Linked DNA regions of Homo sapiens: region 1 is linked to region 2. The links are contacts of gene promoters, found by promoter capture Hi-C in human tissues and cell types (Jung and others, 2019). All regions are on one chromosome and are shown on one strand. The core of a region is centred on a gene start or on the middle of the fragment in contact, and the rest is flanking DNA. Distances in the headings are between cores, read along the strand shown.

Evidence for each region. The method cuts DNA at HindIII sites, captures the fragments that hold promoters and counts their contacts. A contact is called where the count stands out against the background at its distance.
Region 1: a contact is called between a fragment that was not itself captured here and the fragment with the promoter of SLC6A9 in region 2, in 1 of the 25 tissues and cell types used here (bladder).

Annotation. Positions count from the first base shown.
Region 1 is chr1:44,313,076-44,318,562 of GRCh38, forward strand. ERI3 (ERI1 exoribonuclease family member 3) reads right to left here. Exons shown (of 9, transcript NM_024066.3): 5 at 94-153. Among named protein-coding and RNA genes, the nearest start is that of ERI3, 39 kb to the right of the region's middle. RefSeq lists an enhancer at 1,580-1,749. The HindIII fragment of the contact is 6,119 bases long and covers 1,167-5,487 here.
Region 2 is chr1:44,026,636-44,032,777 of GRCh38, forward strand. SLC6A9 (solute carrier family 6 member 9) reads right to left here and starts at 4,827. Exons shown (of 14, transcript NM_001024845.3): 1 at 4,671-4,827. It overlaps LOC107984948 (a long non-coding RNA gene), which reads left to right and starts at 3,779. Exons shown (of 2, transcript XR_007066054.1): 1 at 3,779-3,914. LOC124904168 (a long non-coding RNA gene) reads right to left here. Exons shown (of 4, transcript XR_007066055.1): 4 at 5,908-6,092. RefSeq lists enhancers at 2,202-2,761, 2,762-3,319, 3,961-4,557 and silencers at 3,429-3,978, 4,299-4,368. The HindIII fragment of the contact is 16,348 bases long and covers 1,038-6,142 here.

The DNA.
Region 1 (5,487 bases), core at 2,976-5,475, 290 kb after region 2:
AGTCAAATTACACGGCTACATTCTCAGGAGGGGAGGGAGAGAAAGGCAGCAGGAAGGGGTCAGAGGTCAGGAATTAAAGGTCACTCAACCTACCTCCAGCACTTGCTGCAGGCTTGGCTGACCATCCACCATGGCTTGAATAATCCCGGTGAGCTGAAAGGAAAGAGAAATAGCCGATGGGTAGAAAACCAGGGTGAAGGGACTCAAGGCTGAACAGGACCCCTTCCTTTCTGTTTTTCTCCTTCTGTTGTAAAGGGCTCTGATCTGGCACTGCTTTAGGTTCAGAGCCCACCTAGAAGACTTGGGAATAAAGTCCCAGGACCCAGGACACAATGTGTGCTTCTCCCATAATATCCTGCCCTGAGATGGGTGTACACATACACATGCTGACCACAAGGCGTGTTCTCACACCTGTTTCCACAAGGCATGTTCTCACACCTGTTTCAGCTTTCAGTTTGCAAACAAATTGATGTTACATGTCTTTTGTATTCAATAGGCTCAATAACTTCCCACAATTACAGTCTCAAGTAAATTCAGCTCCTAGCTTCACAGAAGTTCCCGTAAAACTTGGGGAGTGCTCATACAGGAGAGGCACACTTGGTTTCAAGTCCACCCCTTCTCTGAGCCTTGATATCCAGCACTGCCCCCTCCCACACTCTCCCTAACACCTTCCCTAACATCCATGAAGTCCCACAGGCTCCTATCCTTCACCCTGCATACGTGGGCCATCAATATGAACTAGCCAAGCAAGAGACAGAGTCATCTTTAACCAATGGGGAAACTAAGACAAAAAGGCCTAATGTTCAGACTATGACCTAGAGAATTTCTGACTCAGGCCTATGCTCCACCTAGGTCAGGCCTGGGTTCAAACAAGCTTGTTGTTTTGCTTTGTTTTGGTTTGGTTTAAAGTAAAAAAAAAAAAAGACTGGGGATAGATTGCCTACAAGGATCTGAGGGCATGAGGCCCCCATGTCCTGGACACCAACTGGAAATCACCACCCCCAGCATGTCCCTGGCTACTTCCAGAAAGAGCAGTATCTCAGACTTGCTTGGAAACTTCTTTTTTTTAAAGTGTGTTGGGGGGGGGGAGATTAAACTCCAATTAAACTATAATTACACTTAATGAATACCAAATACCCAACTCACAGAAATTGCTGGCTCTAAAAGGGAAGGTTATTTTCTCATGGTGACTTACATGGAATGGTAATATACACCTTTTAGGGAGAAATTTTCATTTTAAAAACGCTGAGCTCCTCTAGGTGGGTTTCTGTAGTTCATCAAGTCATTATTAGGTGGTATTTTAAGGAAGTGTAAGGACACAGCCACTCTATTTTATATTCCAGAAACTGTTTTTATATTAATCTGTATTTTAATTGGGTAACAGCTGCTGCCTACAGACTTCCCATGGTCTAAAAGGAAAATAAATTAGAAAGATTAACTACACTGTTGTTTTGCAAAGCTTTAACCCACAGCATGCCCACCCGGCTGGCACCTCCACACCCTTTCCTTGCCTGGAAGACCAAAGAACTGCCCAGTAGAGGGAGGGCCTGAGTCAAAGAGAAGAAAAGATGGTCCGCTAAGGGCTGGGGGGCTGGGAGTGGGGAAGTGCCCTCAGTCAGCAGCTTCAATAATCTTGGAGTACAAAGGACTCCTCCTTTTATTTAGTCAACAACTATTCATAGAAAGCCTACTACGGGCTGGGCCGCATTACAGGAACTAGAGATCCGGCAGTGAAGAAAAATGTAAAAACTCTGCCCTCATGGAATACATGTTCTCAGCAGCCCCCTCCTACACCCAGCCCCAACTAGTACCGAGAGCCTCTACATCTTCCAGAGCCGCAAACCGAGCAGGCAGTTGCCCTGTTTTGCCTCAGGCATGAAGGGGCCAAAGAGAGTCAGGAGGAGGCTTATTACCAACCCCAGATTAGTGACAGACACCCACAGGCCCACCGCTGCCCATTCTGGTCCAGCTTCTCTCCTGTTAAGCCTAGGGCTTAGACACATCTTCAGGCCTGGAGCTGAGGCTCAACATCAGGACCATCCTGGAAAAGGCGGACCACAGCCACTCTCACTTCTTAGGAAGCTCCAGGGTCCAAATGTTAGTCTTGTGTCTGGTCTGAGTTTCAGGCGGCAAGGTTAGGTCCACTCCTTCTCTTGGCTCCCACCAAGGGTCTCTCAAATGAGCTGAATGCCAAGGGCTTAAAGAAAGTCTCACTCACACAGGAAAGCAATGCACCCTTGCCAAGAGCCCTCCCTCCCTGGAGATAAGGCTTAGGTCAGCACCTGTGTGTACCCCATAAGCCCCTGCCCTGGGCCCCAGGAAAATCACTGATGTGGGGCAAGAAAATCACTACACCAAAATGGAAAACCAGGGTGCTGCTCTGGTGTTCTGCTGCAGGATGCCTCACTGCAGACTAAACCCAACTCTCCCACCTGGAGCTGGGGAAATGGAGCTCCAGCATCCTGGGGCTTTCACAAACTCCACTCCAGTGCTCAGTGATCCTAGAATCATCAGCCTGGGAGGAGCCTAGTGAGGTCAGCTCCTTCTCTCACCATGCTTCCCAGACAACAGCCATTTTCATTTGTGGCTCAGTAAAGCATGGCTCACAGCTGAGCTCCTCAAGGATTTGCATTTAGCCCCCAGAGACACAGGGGCTTGAGCAGTTGGCTCAGCTAGACAAAGCCTTCTCAGGGAAGGCCTCAGGCTCCTGTATTAATCCCTCCAAGGATGGACCACCCCTTTTCAGCTCTGCCAAGGCACTGGACAAAGAAGGGATGAAATTAAAGTTAGTTCTGGGCTGGGCATGGTGGCTCAGCCTGCAATCCCAGCCCTTTGGGAGGCTAAGGCAGGAGGACTGCTTGAGCCCAAGAATTTGAGACCAGCTTATGCAACATAGAGAGACCCCATCTTTTTTTTTTTTTTTTAAGTAAAAATTAGTTCCTCTACCTGATACTAATGACCTATAAGACACGTGTAAGGTTTATACAGGATGCTATGAGGGAACGAGACAATTTTATCAAATTAATACTGGGAAGTTCTATCTTAGGCCTAACTTAAATCCTTCATGTTACAGTTTAAGCCCAGTCCCACTTGGGTTAATACATGTTTGTAAAAAGCTTTCACTCCTTACAATGAAAGGTACTAGAGCAAAGCCAAGTATTACTAAGCTGAGAACCAGGGCTCACAGGCTAAACAGAGCTCAGAGACCTTAGCCACTTAAAGCAGGAGAGGTGAGAGGAAGAATTAATGTGTGCTCTGTGGCTCCTTTCAATGAGGGATTACAGATTAACTCCCACTTCTCCAGACTCAGAAACCACAAGGCAAGGGGCTTTTGACCCTGACTGATAACATGGCTGGTTACTGAGATCCCCTACCCTCACAAGGGCTTTGTCCAGGAATGAGCTGGCTTCATCAAGAACACTAGCAACTACAGGAAGCAGCCCAGGAAACTCAGTGCCAATAGCATGTCAGCATCCAGTGCTTTCTCCTTTCACAGTTTATCTCCAACACAATCGTATTCTGACACCAAGACAGTTTGTTGATTACATAAGCACTTGTCTCTGGTGTGCAATCTGATAATCAGACCCACTCTTTCTCTTCAGACAAAGAGACCAATAAATCTCACCCTTTATAAGTACAGGTGCAAGACAAAGCCCTTTACTGGCACTTAGCAAAATGAGTATTTCTCTAGTTTTTTTTTCATGATAACAACAACAAAAAGAAGACATGGTTAGGGACTGTGCAGCAGCCCAGCTGCTAGAGATAGAGACTTGATGAACTGGAGCAGATTCTAGAGGTCAAAGGGAAAGGGCTCGGGAAGGAATGAAACACATCCCATCCTATCTCTGTCAGAACCACGTCTCCAGGCCGACTCTCAACTGAAACTAAGAAGGGACCTCAAGAAGGGTACTAACACATTCCTAATATGAAGCAGTAAAAGTAGGAGTCTCTCTGTGTGTGCTAGAGACTTGTTCAAACTGGAATCCTTCTTCCTACTGTCCAGCACTGAGCCTGCTTCTCTCCCCAAGCATGTGCCCATGTGTGTGCACATGTCATACGCATGTGCGTGCACACACACACACACACACACACTGGGGTTAAGAACTTCTTGTGCACAAGAGAGAAAATCCTGCCAGAGGAACTACTTAAGTATAATCTGGAGGTTTGGGACTGTTCCTCACACTTACTAATGAGAGATTTTCTCTGGTTGGAATGACCTCCATCCCCACCCGCAAAAGGCACCAACTGCCAGGTTGGATGAGGTTTCAGAATGACAGCCCCCATCCTGTGTCTATGCCTCTCGGAGATACAATTCCATCTGGTATGGAGACAGGGCAAAATATATATGATCTGAGGTTTTCCAAACAAGACTTTACTTACTTACTCAAAATAACAAGTCAGCAGTACAGTTGTTTTTGGGAGAGACAGAAAATAACTCCTTGACAATATTCATTCATTTAAGGGACACGTATCAAGTGTTTACTTGGTAGCAGACCCTAATGATGGGATGGAGATGGATCAGGTCTAGTTTCTTCCCTCAAAGAACTTATAGTCTAGTGAAAAGACAGATAAATAATTATAGTATAAAGTATCTGATCAGTTCTATGTTGGAATAAGCACAACTCAATCTGGGGATCAGGGAAAGTGACCCTAAGCAGAGTCCTGGAGGTCAAGCAGGAGTTGGCGGGGAGAGTGGGAACTCTGTGCAGGCAGGAGGACCATCATGTGAAAAGACAGACTGTAAGAGGGCAACCTCTGGGTGAGGGGAGCTAGGTGGGAGATGAAGCAGAGAGATATGAGGCTGGCCAAAAAAGGATGGACAAGATCATGGCGAGTTTTGAGCTCTGGAAACCTGAGACAAAATGGCAGACCCGGTGCCTACAGAACAACCACATTTTCACTTTTAGAACAGCCTTCATAATAAAGATCCCAACTACCACTCCTACTCCCCTCCAAATTATGTATGTGCATCCTTGGGTGAAGCTTTCTAGAGAGAAGAAACTGTTCATCATAGTCTCACAATCCCTCCTCCCATTCCCACAAAAAGTAGCAGCAGCAGCCTTACTCTAAAAGAAGTCCCTCTTCTTCCGATACTCTCAAGCATCCACTCCTGCCCAGGGTCCAGCTCCAGCAGAATACTGTTACATTCCTAAACAGGTAGCAAACTTACTAAAATTTGGGCCTGCCTGTCTACGTAAGGACAAGAGGACATTAGCCTTTCAAGGCCAGTGGAGGGCTCAGGTAACTGGCTGGCTTAAAGAAAGTCTTTCCTTCCCTTCGCATAAGCAAGGGAATTTTCATCATCATTAAAATGGTGATTTTTCAAAAAGGGCAGAAAAGTCAGATTAGCGCCCCCTGGTGGTATAGGTAAATCCCAGGGGAAAGGGGAAACCCCGGCAGAGGAAGGCGAAAACCAGAACCCAACATCATTAGTTGGAATAACAAAAGGCTTAAGAGGCTAGGCGCCTTGGCAGATGGATGCCTGCA
Region 2 (6,142 bases), core at 3,577-6,076:
GCGACAGAGCAAGACATTGTCTAAAAAAAAAAAAAGAGCCACAAAAAAGCCACGTCACAGGTTGGAAATTATTAAGCCCGCTGGTCAGGTAAGTAAACTGAGGACACTGTGTCTCAGAACTTAGGCTGCAGAGGGCCCTCACCCAGGTTATCCTGGAATTCCTCCAATTCCTCCTATTACCATCAGAGAGACAGACTCGGAGAGGTCACATGCCTTCCTTGTAAGTGCTCGAGTGAGGACTTGAACTAGGTTTTCAGACCCTACATCTCTGACTCTGACATTTCTGACTGCAAATGCAGTCCCTGCCCTCAGGTAGTTCGTGGACTGGAGGGAAAAGACTGCTTCATGGCGGCTTCCAGGAGAATGAGCTGGGTGTAAAGCTTTGCTGCTTCTCCTGCCTTTGACATTCCTGTTACATGGTCCCATCCGTCCATTCAGAAAACACCAACTGATTGCCCGTGGCGTCCAGTCTCTTCTACGTGTGGAAGATCCACAACACCAGGCCCCACACATGCCCCTGAAGCACTTGTGGGCCACTGTTGACAAGCAGTAGTGGGTCACAGAGGCAGTTTAGCACATGATAAAGAGCTCAGGCTCTGGGATCTGGTAGGCCTGGGCTGGATTTCTGGCTCAGCTACTCACCAGGTATGTGATTTCGAGTAAGTTACTTAACCTCTTTGAGCCTTAGTTTTCTCAGTCTGGAAGATGGGGCTAACAGTAGTTTCCTCGTAAGTTCTGAAGTTTCTGCCTAATTTTTATCCTTTCCACAAGCCCTCCACATGTTCCTCCCCTCCAATCTGTTAATCTTCCCAAAGCCCTAAATCCCTGATTCTCTCCAACAGTTTTCCACAGCCAACAGGATATGGCCTAAATTGCTTAGCAGGCGTTTAAGGCTGGCCACAGCTGGACTCATTTATTCCACAATATTGATTGCAGGTCTGCTCTGGACCAGACCTGTGCTAGGCACCAAGAACTCAAAGGTATCTGCACTCCTGCAGCTTACAGACTAAGGGGCAAGAGTTAAACCAATGACTAAAATTTAAAGAATTACAAACTGAGACCAGGAGTGGTGGCTCACGCCTGTAATCCTAGCACTTTGGGAGGCCAAGGCAGGCAAATCACCTGAGGTCAGGAGTTCGAGACCAGCCTGGCTAACATGGTGAAGGCCCGTCTCTACTAAAAACACAAAATTAGCTGGGCGTGGTGGTAGGCGCCTGTAATCCCAACTACTTGGGAGGCTGAGGCAGGAGAATCACTTGAATCCAGGAGGCAGAGGTTGCAGTGAGCCGAGGTCACGCCATTGCACCCCAGCCTGGGCAAAAAGAGTGAAACTCTTATCTCAAAAAATAAAAAATAAAGAACTGCCTACTGAGATAAAGGGTGTAAAAGACAAAGATTGTGTTATGAGACTCTACAATAGGGGGGCCTGGCCTTGTGTAAGACTAGGGGAGGGCTTCCCTGATGAAGTGATGTTTAAGGGTCTAAAGAAGTTAATTAGGCAAAGTGGCAATAATGAGGAAGAGAAGAGGAAGAGAGAGTCAAGCAAATGGAACAATATGTGGAAAGGCTCTGAGGCTGGAGCTCAGACAGTCAGGGGGAAATGGTCAAAGATTAAAGTGGACAGAGAGGCCTGGCCAGGGCCTTTGGGGTCTGGATTTTGGTCTTCATCTTGAGGGCAAGGGTGCCTATTGAAAGCTTTTAAGCAGAAGATCAACTTCAAGGAGGAGCCATTGGTGGAATGTGCATCTTGAAACCATCCCCCTAGATACAGTGTGGAGAAAGGACTGGAGGGAGGCTGAAGTTGAAGAGAGGAAGTCAATTAGAAATGGGCCAGGCCAGGCTGGGCGCGGTGGCTCACACCTGTAATCCCAGCACTTTGGGAGGCCGAGGTGGGTGGATCACCTGAGGTCAGGAGTCCGAGACCAGCCTGACCGACATGGAGAAACCCTGTCTCTACTAAAAATACGAAATTAGCTGGGCGTGGTGGCAGGCACCTGTAATCCCAGCTGCTCAGGAGGCTGAGTCATGAGAATTGCTTGAACTTGGGAGACAGAGGTTGCAGTGAGTCAAGATTGTGCCATTGCACTATTGCCTGGGCAACAAGAGCAAAACTCCGTCAAAAGAAAAAGAAAAAGAAAAAAGAAAGAGAGAGAGAGAAAGAAAGAAAGGAAGGAAGGAAAGAAGGAAGGAAGGAAGGAAGGAGCCAGGCCAAAAATGAAGGGGCTCAGGTTAGGAAGGTGACAATAGGGTGAGGAGAGGTGCACAGATTTCAGAGAAATATAAAAGGCAACATGGCGAGACTTGGTGATGAATCGGACTGGGTAGGGGGAGGGATAAGAAGGAGTCTCTGGTTTCTGCTGGTGCAGTGGGAGGAAACCGGTGCCCGACCCAGAGGACGAATGCTGGTGAGGCTGCAGGTTTGGTGCGGGGACAGGAGGGCTGGCTTGGACAAGCTGGTCTGAGCTGCTTGTGAGCCAGATGTTGAGACATCAGCCACAGAACCCTGGCCCACCTTGACAGTCTCACCGCTGAGTATCAGACAGGACTGTCAGGTCAATCAGTTTTAACGGTCCATCTTGGCCAAGCCCTGGAGTCCTCACGGGGGATGGAAAGGTGACAGGCTCTTTTCCTAGCTTGAAGGACCGCACAGTTTAGTAGACAGAGGAAGAAGCATAATTTCCATTCACTGTGTTGGAGGAAGTGGAGGAGCTGTGGGAGCAGGAAACAGCCCTTAGTTCTACCTGGGAGCCCAGGTCAGCAGCCTGCGGCCATCTGCCGCCACGTGAGACTACCCAGCACTTGCAGAGGGCTCCTGCTTCATGCCTTTGCCCCGGCACCCGTTCCATGTTTTTTGAGCACCCTTGTCTCCACTTCCACCTGTATGTATCCTACCCATCCTCAAAACCTATCCCAATGCTATTATCTTCATGAAGCCTTCCTAGGTCCTCCCCGTTGCTGTCAGCCTTCCTACTGTACCCCCACGCTTGCCACACGTAGCAATTGAGGCATGCTTCCTTGTGCCCAAGTCTGGCTCCCCACTAGATGGAGAGTTCTACCAGGGCAGAGGCGTGATTCTTCTGTGTCCCCAGAGCCGGGAACTGAGCAGGTACAGCCGCAGTCGCCGCATAGGCCAAGTAAAGGGGGCGTTTTCTCTGCGGTCCTTGGAAACACTTGGGCATGCTCAGTGTCGCCCATTAGTCCCTAGAACCAGTCCCCTCACCCACTACTCTCCAACCTTCTGATGCTCCCTCACTTTGGCAGTCTTTAACCTTTCAGGTTTTTCTCTTTCCCCACTCCTCGCCCTGCAGCCTTTATTTCCCAACGGCCGCACCCTCACGCTCCTTTCAGCGGAGAAATAGACCGCGCTTTGTGCGGAAGCTGTCAGCGAGCAAGCGTCCCGTCTCCTTTAAGAGTGATCCGCGAGGGGGTGTGGCTTGCGGAGAGCAGGCCCGAAAGGGGGTGCGGCTCCTTTAAGTATCCGCCGGCCCGAGGCGCGGAGGCCTCCGGCCGGCGGGCAGGGGCGCGGTCGGTCTGGGAGCAGCGGCACCGCCCGCAGCGTCCCGGTTCCTCGAAGTGGGGCGCGTCCGCTTTAATCGGGGAGAGAGATGTGGGGGCACGGGCGTTACATCAGCCGCCACGTGTGGGCCTAAGCTGGCGTGGAGGCGGCGGCCCCGCCCCCGGCCCCTGCGGTGGAAAAGTACCGGGGCGCCGAGGTCCCCGCCCCACGGCCCCGCCCCCGGGCCGGCACCGGCCCCTCCCGGCCCTCCGGGCAAGCCCCACTCTCCCGCCCGGCCCGGCCCCGCCGCCTGCTCGAGATCTGCAGTGGCTGCCGGGTGCGGAGCGCCGGCCGGGGGTGGGCTCTCCAGGGCTGCTAGGCCCCTGCCCTCACCTGCGGCCGCCCGGCCCCGCCCTAGGTGTGCCGGTAATGAGGGTTGGGGTGGGGAGGGCACGGATTCTTCCCAGGGTAGCAACCCCCAGAGAACTCCCGGCTCGCTCGCAGTCCCTTCCCAAAGCCGCGGCCAGAGCGCGGACAAAGAGAGGCTGAGTGCGCCAGGACTCTCCCGCGCGGCTTCCCGGGTCCCGCGGGCGCACGGGCACTGGAACCGGCACCGGGAGGGCAGATAGGGAGGCAGGCCGGCTGGAGGGGCCAGATAGGCAGCCAGGCTGGCGGGCGCTGAGAGGCGATGGAGCGAGCGGGAGCCCGCACGCTGGGTGCAGGCACGGCCGACTGTCGACCCCTGCAGGCCCCCAGAGCGCAGAACCACTGGCTCCTCGGACGGACAGTGCCACGCTCTGGCTCCGGCGCTACCCGCACAGCCTGCGCCCGCCGCCCCCGATCGAACCGGCGTCTGGCGCCCCCCCGCCACCCCACGCAGGAGCTCCCCCCACTTCCCTCTCCCTCCCGCTTCAGCTCCTTGGTGACAGCGGTGACACCCAGACGCGCGCACCTACCCCGATCTTTGCGGCGAGACAGACATCCCGGTGCGTGCACCCACACTCTTACCCACAGATGCCCGCATACATGCGCGATCACACACACACACACACACACACACACACACGCACACGCTGGTCCTGGGGCTCAGCCCCGCGGAGCCGCCGAACACTCAGACCGACGGCAGGACAGACGGAGGCGCGGGCCCCAGCGTCCCTTCCCCCAGCCCCCTTACCATGCTGCAGCCCCCGGCCCAGGCGTGCTGGGTCCGCACCGCGGTGCGCCCAGGTGGCTTTCTTAAAGGGAAAGTTGCATCAGCCTCCCGAGGCTCTGTGCCGCGCCGAGTTCGCCCGCCCCGCCGCGCCGCTCGCAGCTCTTCCACAGCCTGTTGTGTTTTGGTTTCGGGGAGGCGGGGGCTAAGAGTTTGGTGAAAGTTTGAAGAGTGGAGAAGGCTTGGGAGATCTAGCCAAGTCCCTCCCCTACCCGAACGGCTCCCCTGGCCGTCCTCCCCTCTCCATCCCATCCCCTCCTCCCGTGCCGACTTCTCAGGCTCCTCCTCCCAGGGAATAAAATTACAAGTCTCTCCAGCTTTCAGATGATTGATCCCCACGAACCCCTGGGAGTGAGCGCCACAAAGGAGTCCCCTTCTCCGCCCCTGCCTCGCTGCCCTCCAGCTGGGGCCCTTGAGCAAGCAGATGTGGGCCCCTTCGGGCTAGGCTGGAATGAAGCCAGAAGGCCTGGGGCACTATGGGGGGCTGAGGCTGGAGTTAGCCCTCCAGGCCCCTGGCCTTCTGCGCCTGCGTTTCCCCTAGAGAGAAGTCAGAGCAAATTCCATTCCCTTTGGAGCAGAGCCGCTAGAGACTGTGGGCATTGCTGGGTAAGGCCTAGGTCCTACTCCTTGGAACTGGAGGGCTCGGGGTAGCCCTTTCTCAAATTTCCCTCCTGGACCACCGGCTTGGTCAGCTCTACTTTTGAGGTGGTGTTACAGGGGCTGCAGACACCAACCTGGGATCCCTCCTCCTTCCATGGTGAGACAGACCTGGGTTACAATCTCAGCTAAAAAAGAGTCTTTGCCAAAAGGAGCATGGTGAGCCTCGGTTTCCTCCTCTGTGAAACAGAGAGAAGGGGCTAAGGAAATGCATGTGTGTGTATATAAAGCCCATTGCTCCAGGCTGCCTCTGGGGAGTGGTGGCTGGCATTTGGAATGAGCCTCCCACATTTGCATACCTTGTGAGAGCCACCACCTTTCATGGAGAGTGGCCAGTTAGTTCTGTCAGAGGAACTGGTTTTTGCCCCAACCTGAGTAGGGCATCTGCTCAGGGAAGGGGCCCAGCCCACAGAGGCAATTTCTACTTTGGACCCTGAGTCCTCACCATTTTCTGGCCAGGAAACAGTTTAATTTTTTTCCTTGGGACAGTCAGCCTCCAAGAAGCGAGTGCACACATGCCAAACTCACGTGAAACCAATTGTTGAGTGAGATTCCAGTTTATTAATTTATCAGAGGCACTGAACAAGATAACAGGCATCAAGCCCAGGCATTCCCTGAAATGCGAGCTCTCTCAGGCCACACGCGGTCCATTCCACAAACCTTCCTCAGAGCCAAAGTACAAAGACAGCTCTCTGTTGTCTCCTATTCACATTGGACTCCTGATCAGATCTGGGAAGACACCTTAGTCTTATCAGCGAGATTATTTTCACTTTTACTTT